Linked DNA regions of Homo sapiens: region 2 is linked to region 1. Evidence: promoter capture Hi-C in 16 types of primary human blood cells and fetal thymus (Javierre and others, 2016). All regions are on one chromosome and are shown on one strand. The core of a region is centred on a gene start or on the middle of the fragment in contact, and the rest is flanking DNA. Distances in the headings are between cores, read along the strand shown. Region 1 holds the start of RS1 (retinoschisin 1). Region 2 overlaps SCML1 (Scm polycomb group protein like 1).

Region 1 (3,064 bases), core at 260-2,759:
GAATGAATCTCCATGCCAATCACAAAGAAGAGAAATCCGAGAGTGAGCCCTGGGAGTGTCTGACAACCAGGAGTATTTAGATCTAAGCCTTGAAAGAGTCTGCTTAGATTTTCTTGCTGAGGAAAGAGGAGGGGGCAAGGAGTAAAAGGAAAAACAACAAAACCCCAAAGCATCTTAAAGTAGTCAGAGTTACTGGGACAAGTTGCAGACTATTAATTGCAAGGGGAAAAAATCCTAACAGACAACTGGTTTACATGATCCCTACTTAGAAATATACCTTGGGGTTTGCAGAATGACCTTGGAATTATATTGTCACCAGTCTTTCCAAATACTGAGAAATGTGACTAAGTAACAAAAGTCATCAGCCTGGGAAACATGGTGAAAACCCCTCTCTACAAGAAATACAATAAATTAGCCGGATGTGGTGGTGCGTGCCTGTAGTCCCAGCTACTAGGGAGGCTGAGGCAGGAGGATGGCTTGAGCCTGGGAGGTTGAGGCTACAGTGAGCCGTGAAACCAAGAATTCTGATTCTACTTGTGTGAGTTTCGCTGTGTCTGTCTACCAGGTCATTTGCAGAGCACAGAGACCTCCTTCTCCCTGCTTTTTAATTTATTTTCTATAACACACAAATACACGATGTCCACAAAGAAGACAGGCAACCAATTTCTAACATCTGGATGAACCTGAGGAGAAATTCTGAGCAGATGGGTACTTGAGAATTGAGAGAGGCATGAAAGAATATTATTTCAAAGATTGAGAGGGAATTGGAACTGGATGACATTTTACAGATTTGCCCTTATTTTTTCCTAATTGAAGCATATCACTTCTGCTAGGGTCATATTTAGAAATTTTAAAATGAGTGAGTGTACTGAGTCTCCGAGGTTTCCTGACTCTCAGTTGGATTATGTTTTTTATTAGATTCCAGTGGTACTGGGTATGTTACGTTAATCCATATTTAAACTAGGTTGACCTTACACCCCAATTTGCCCTGGATGGTCCTGGGTTACACCTGTCGTCCCAACAGAATTATTAATAGCATCGTCCTCCACCGTCAATAGCATTCCGGTTTGGAATATTAAATTCTACAATCACTCCCACTTTGACTCCTAAAAGTTTTCCAGAATATGCCATACTTTCTCATTAATTGTTGCAACTTATGGCTATTTTATAGATTTCTGAGACCCATCCTGTTTTCTGTTGGATTTTAAGCATCCTTTGAACTTTAGAAGGCTCCTCACAGAACTGGAAAGCCATCCACACAAAGACAACTGTTGTTCATTAATAACACATGTTAGTTAATTAACGTGTTGCTAATTAATAATATTTATATTATTCAGGCTATATTCCTATTTATCAACGATATTAATTAAATTATGTATTAAGTATGCAATGAATGTCAATGGTTGAATAGCACATACCTTCATAGCCAAAGAGAAGTAATAACAAAAAGCCTTCTATCTTGCGTGACATCTTCCCCTCGTCCTCGGCCAAAGCTCTACCTTACTGAACTGGAGAGCTGGCCCAGGAGCAGGGGATTAAGTTGAGCCCTGGCCTCATTAAGCATCTTAATCCATTTAGTTCTTAGGTCTTTGGCTGAGCCCCATCAAGTTAACCCACAGAGTTACCTGCCTCAACAAGGAAGTCTCATGGAAGATACTAGCATCAACTGAGATTCAGTTCGCGAGGAAGATACTTTTCGTTCTTTTTTTTTTTTTTTTTTTTTTTTTTGAGATGGAGTTTCGCTCTTGTCACCCAGGCTGGAGTGCAATGGCGCCATCTCGGCTCACTGCAACCTCTGCCTCCCGGGTTCAATCTAGTCTCCTGCCTCAGCCTTCCGAGTAGCTGGGATTATAGGCTCACGCCACCACGCCCAGCTAATTTTTGTATTTTTAGTAGAGATGGGGTTTCGTCATGTCAGTCAGGCTGGTCTCGGACTCCTGACCTCAGGTGATCCACCCACCTCGGCCTCCCAAAGTGCTGGGATTACAGGCGTCAGCCACTGCGCCCGGCCCATACTGTTCATTCTATCTTAATGTAAGGGAAGCAATGGAGGGAGAGAACTACAACCAGAAGTCTCAGGTTTTCGTCCTTTCTTCGCCATCATTTTTTAGGGGGTGACCTTGAACAATTTCCTGCCACATAAGCACTAACATTCTCGAATTGTATGAAAATGTCATGGATTCCCCTCTTTGAAAGCAACTAGGCATCATGTGCACACCTATTCACTCAGGAAAATGCTAAATTTGGTGGTGGTGGGAGGACAGTTAACACAAAGCTGTGCATTGCTGTGTTACTTTTAACAACAACAAATTGGAAACAATCTAAATGGCCAAGGTTAGGGGGCTGGTTAAGTAAATCAAGAGATGAGTGCAGCCTGGTAGGTTTAAGAGCACAGACTGCCAACCCAGACTGGGTGCCAAATCGCAGCACTAGCACTTGTTACATTGTGACCTCAGGGCAAGTTATTAATATCTCTGCGCCTAAACTTTCTCATCTGTAAGATGATGATAATAATGCCTACTTTCGAGAGTTATTTTGAGGCTTACAAGAGATCATATGTATAAAATACTTAGCACAGTGCTAGACATAATTAGCTATTATTTTTACATCACCATTCAGAATAAAGTTGATGGGAGGAAAAGGGGAGTTGTTTAATAGGTATAGAGTTGAGTTTTGCAAGATGAAAAAGTTCCCGAGATCTGTTTCACAACAATGTGAATATACTTAACACTACTGAACTGTACACTTAAAAATGATTATGGTGGGCTGGAGGTGGTGGCTCACACCTGTAATCCCAGCACTTTGGGAGGCCAAGGCAGGCAGATCACTTGAGGTCAGGAGTTCGAGACCAGCCTGGGCAACATGGCGAAACCTCGTCTCTACCAAAAATACAAAAATTAGTCGGGCGTGGTGGCGTGCACCTATAATCTCAGCTACTCGGGAGGCTGAGGCAGGAGAATCGCTTGAACCCAGGAGGCCGAGGTTTCAGTGAGCCGAGATTGTACCACTGCACTCCAGCCTGGGTGACAGAGCCAGACTCTGTCTCAAAAAAAAAAAAAAATGG
Region 2 (3,064 bases), core at 147-2,646, 930 kb before region 1:
CCCGGCTCTCCCCGAGTGCGGCAAACTGGCTTCAGGTTGACTAAAAGATAGCGATTTTCCAAGCAGCTTTGCCGCGCGGTGTTTTCTAAAGCGGGGCGTGGGCTGGGTGCCCTTTTGGGCCTCACTTGTCCGGCCTGCGGCAAGTGCTGGGCGATGGGATGCGGTTCTGGCGGCAAAGGAAGGGCTGCCTTTGAGAGTCCCGCAGGAAGGTTTAGAAAGTGATTGTTCTTAAAACAAACAGAGCGTTTTGCTGTGTGTTCCTCAAAGTGGTCCCGGTGGGAGTGGCGCCTCATTGTGAGCTGTGCCTTATCTGATGAATTAATGGCAGGTGAAAGCCTTGCGCCTCCGGAGCGAATATTTACGACTTTTGAAAATGTCTTTAATGTCTAAAAAAAGTCTTTTAGAAAATCAGACGGCCTCTTGTTCTTATGTTATCAAGAGTTTAGATTTCTGTGGTAAATATAAGTGAGTTTCATTTTAAGTAAACTCATTTTACGAGATTTGAGATTTGAAAGTGAAATTAATTAATTTTGCACAATCTAGCCTTGGGCTCTGAGAAAATGTTGTAAAGCTGTAATTAATCTTGTGGGACGAAGTGAAAAGGAACTAAAGTGTATGGTGTAATGAATAGTTTAAATTTCTGTGGTAAATACAAGTGAGTTTCATTTTAAGTAAACTCATTTTTATGGGATTTGAGATTTAAAAGTGAAATTAATTAATTTCGCACAATCTAGTCATGGTTGGGCTCAGAAAATGTTGTAAAGTTGTGATTTATCTTATGGAAAGAAGTGAAAAGGAATTAAGGTATATGGTGTAATTAAGAGTTTAAATTTCTGTGGTAAATGCAAGTGAGTTTCATTTTAAGTAAACTCATTTTTACGGGATTTGAGATTTAAAAGTGAAATTAATTCATTTTGCACAGTGTAGTCATGGTTGGGCTCTGAGAAAATGTTGTAAAGCTGAAATTATTTATCTTGTGGGAAGAAGTGAGAAGAAACTAAAATGTGTGGTATTATCAAGAGTTTAGATTTCCGGGGTAAATATAAATGAGTTTCCTTTAAACTCATTTTTGTGGAATTTGAGGTTTAAAAGTGAAATTAATTTTGTAGAATCTAGTCATGGTTGGGCTCTGAGAAAATGTTGTAAAGCTGTAATTTATCTTGTGGGAAAAAGTGAAAAGGAACTTAAATTTATGGTGTTATCAAGAATTGGCCAGGCGCGGTGGCTCACACCTGTAATCCCAGCACTTTGGGAGGCCGAGGTGGGCAGATCACTTGAGGTCAGAAGTTCGGGACCAGCCTGGCCAACATGGTGAAACCCAGTCTTTACTAAAAGTACAAAAATTAACTGGGCATGGTGGTGCAAGCCTGTTACGCTAACTACTCGGGAGGCTGAGGGAGGAGAATTGCTTTAACCCGGGAGGCAGAGGTTGCAGTAAGCCGAGATCATGCCACTGCACTCCAGCCTGGGTGACAGAGTAAGACTCTGTCTCAAAAAAAAAAAAAAAAAAAAAAGAAATTTAGATTTCTGTGGTAAATATAAATGAGTTTCATTTTAAGTAAACTCATTTTGTGGGATTTGAGATTTAAAAATGAAATTAATTTTGCACATTCTAGTCATGGTTGGGCTCTAAGGCAATGTTGTAAAGCTGTAATTGTTTGCCTTATGGGAAGAAGTGAAAAGGAATTAAAATTTATGGTGTGTCTACTATGAACCAGGCATGATGCTGAGAGTTTAACTGTGTAATTTTTGGCCTAAATAGCCCTGTGAAGTAGATATTATTCCAACTTTACAGGTTAGAAAATTTGAGGCACAGAGAGGTGAAATATTTGCCTAAAGTGAAACGGCAAATTTGGCAATTTGGACTTGGATTCAAGTGTTTATAACTAAAGCCCAGCTCCTTGCATCATACCCTGGTACCTAAAAGACATAAAAACTCACTTCAGGTGCAATGTGAATGAAAATGACGTTATGACCCAGGCTTGTTGTCTATGTGCTCCTTGAGAAATAGTTCTGTTGGATAGATGCGGTCAATACTCAAAAGCCCTTGCTATCTTTGCCATGCATTACTCTAAGCACTTGACATGTATTAATTTAATCCTCACGATTCCGTGAGGTATGTGCTATTATCATTCCCATTTTACAGACAAAAAAAAAAAAGGATTTAAGTAAGTTGTTCAACTTACTTACACAGCTAGTATGTGGGGGAGGTGGGACCCAAACCCAGGTATTCTGACCACAAGCCTAAGGTCTTAATGCTGTTTGATGCTGCCTCTCATGTAACCAGATATGTGTGACAGTTGCCGTAGAAGTATTAAAGTGTGAGTGTTATTGTAGTTCAGGGAAAGCCGTGTCACATCCACATGGGATGATCATTGGCATGGTGCCCTTGCTTTTTGGAGGTGAAACTTGAAGTAAGCCTTGAAGTTGAATAGATTCTCCTAGGCGGAGACACAACAGGGTATTATGGACGGAGGGCATAACAGGAGCGAGAAGCTCAAAGAGTGAAAGATTGGTGTTGATTTGTATATGTACCAGAGATGTAAACATGTTGGGAGTCCAGTGGTGGACTCACTGCACAGTGCTCCTGTGTCTAACTACAGCCAAATTTTGACAACATTGTTATTAATCCAAATAGGGAGTTCTCTGTTCTCTGGATGTAAGAGCTTGTAACCATTGTCTGCAAACTTGCCTGAAACAGGCTACACAGTAAATATTTTAGGCTTAGAACTGCTGTCCCCAGTCTTTTTGGCACCAGGAACCGGTTTTGGTTTTGTGGAAGACAATTTTTCCACAGATGCAGGGACGGGGGAGTGCTAGCGGGGTATAGTTTCCTAATGAAACTGTTTCATAAGGAGAGTGCAACCTAGATCCCTCGCATGTGCAGTTCACAATAGGGTTTGTGCTCCTGTGCGAATCTAATACTGCAGCTCATCTGACAGGAGGCGGAGCTCAGGCGATAATCCTTGCTAGCTCCTGCTGTGCTCCTAACAGGCCAAGGACCAGTACCAGGCGGTTGCCCAGGGGTTGGGGACCCCTGGCTTAGAGTAAAGGGGCAAGTGGT

What was found. The method cuts DNA at HindIII sites, captures the fragments that hold promoters and counts their contacts. A CHiCAGO score of 5 or more calls a contact.
Region 2: a fragment that was not itself captured here is called in contact with the fragment with the promoter of RS1 in region 1 in 1 of 17 cell types (naive B cells); the score reaches 5.3 in naive B cells.

What each region holds. Positions count from the first base shown.
Region 1 is chrX:18,670,599-18,673,662 of GRCh38, forward strand. RS1 (retinoschisin 1) reads right to left here and starts at 1,510. Exons shown (of 6, transcript NM_000330.4): 1 at 1,419-1,510. The coding sequence starts at 1,470. The HindIII fragment of the contact is 14,405 bases long and covers 1-3,064 here.
Region 2 is chrX:17,738,357-17,741,420 of GRCh38, forward strand. All of the region lies in intron 1 of SCML1 (Scm polycomb group protein like 1), which reads left to right. Among named protein-coding and RNA genes, the nearest start is that of SCML1, 2.4 kb to the left of the region's middle. The HindIII fragment of the contact is 3,729 bases long and covers 1-3,064 here.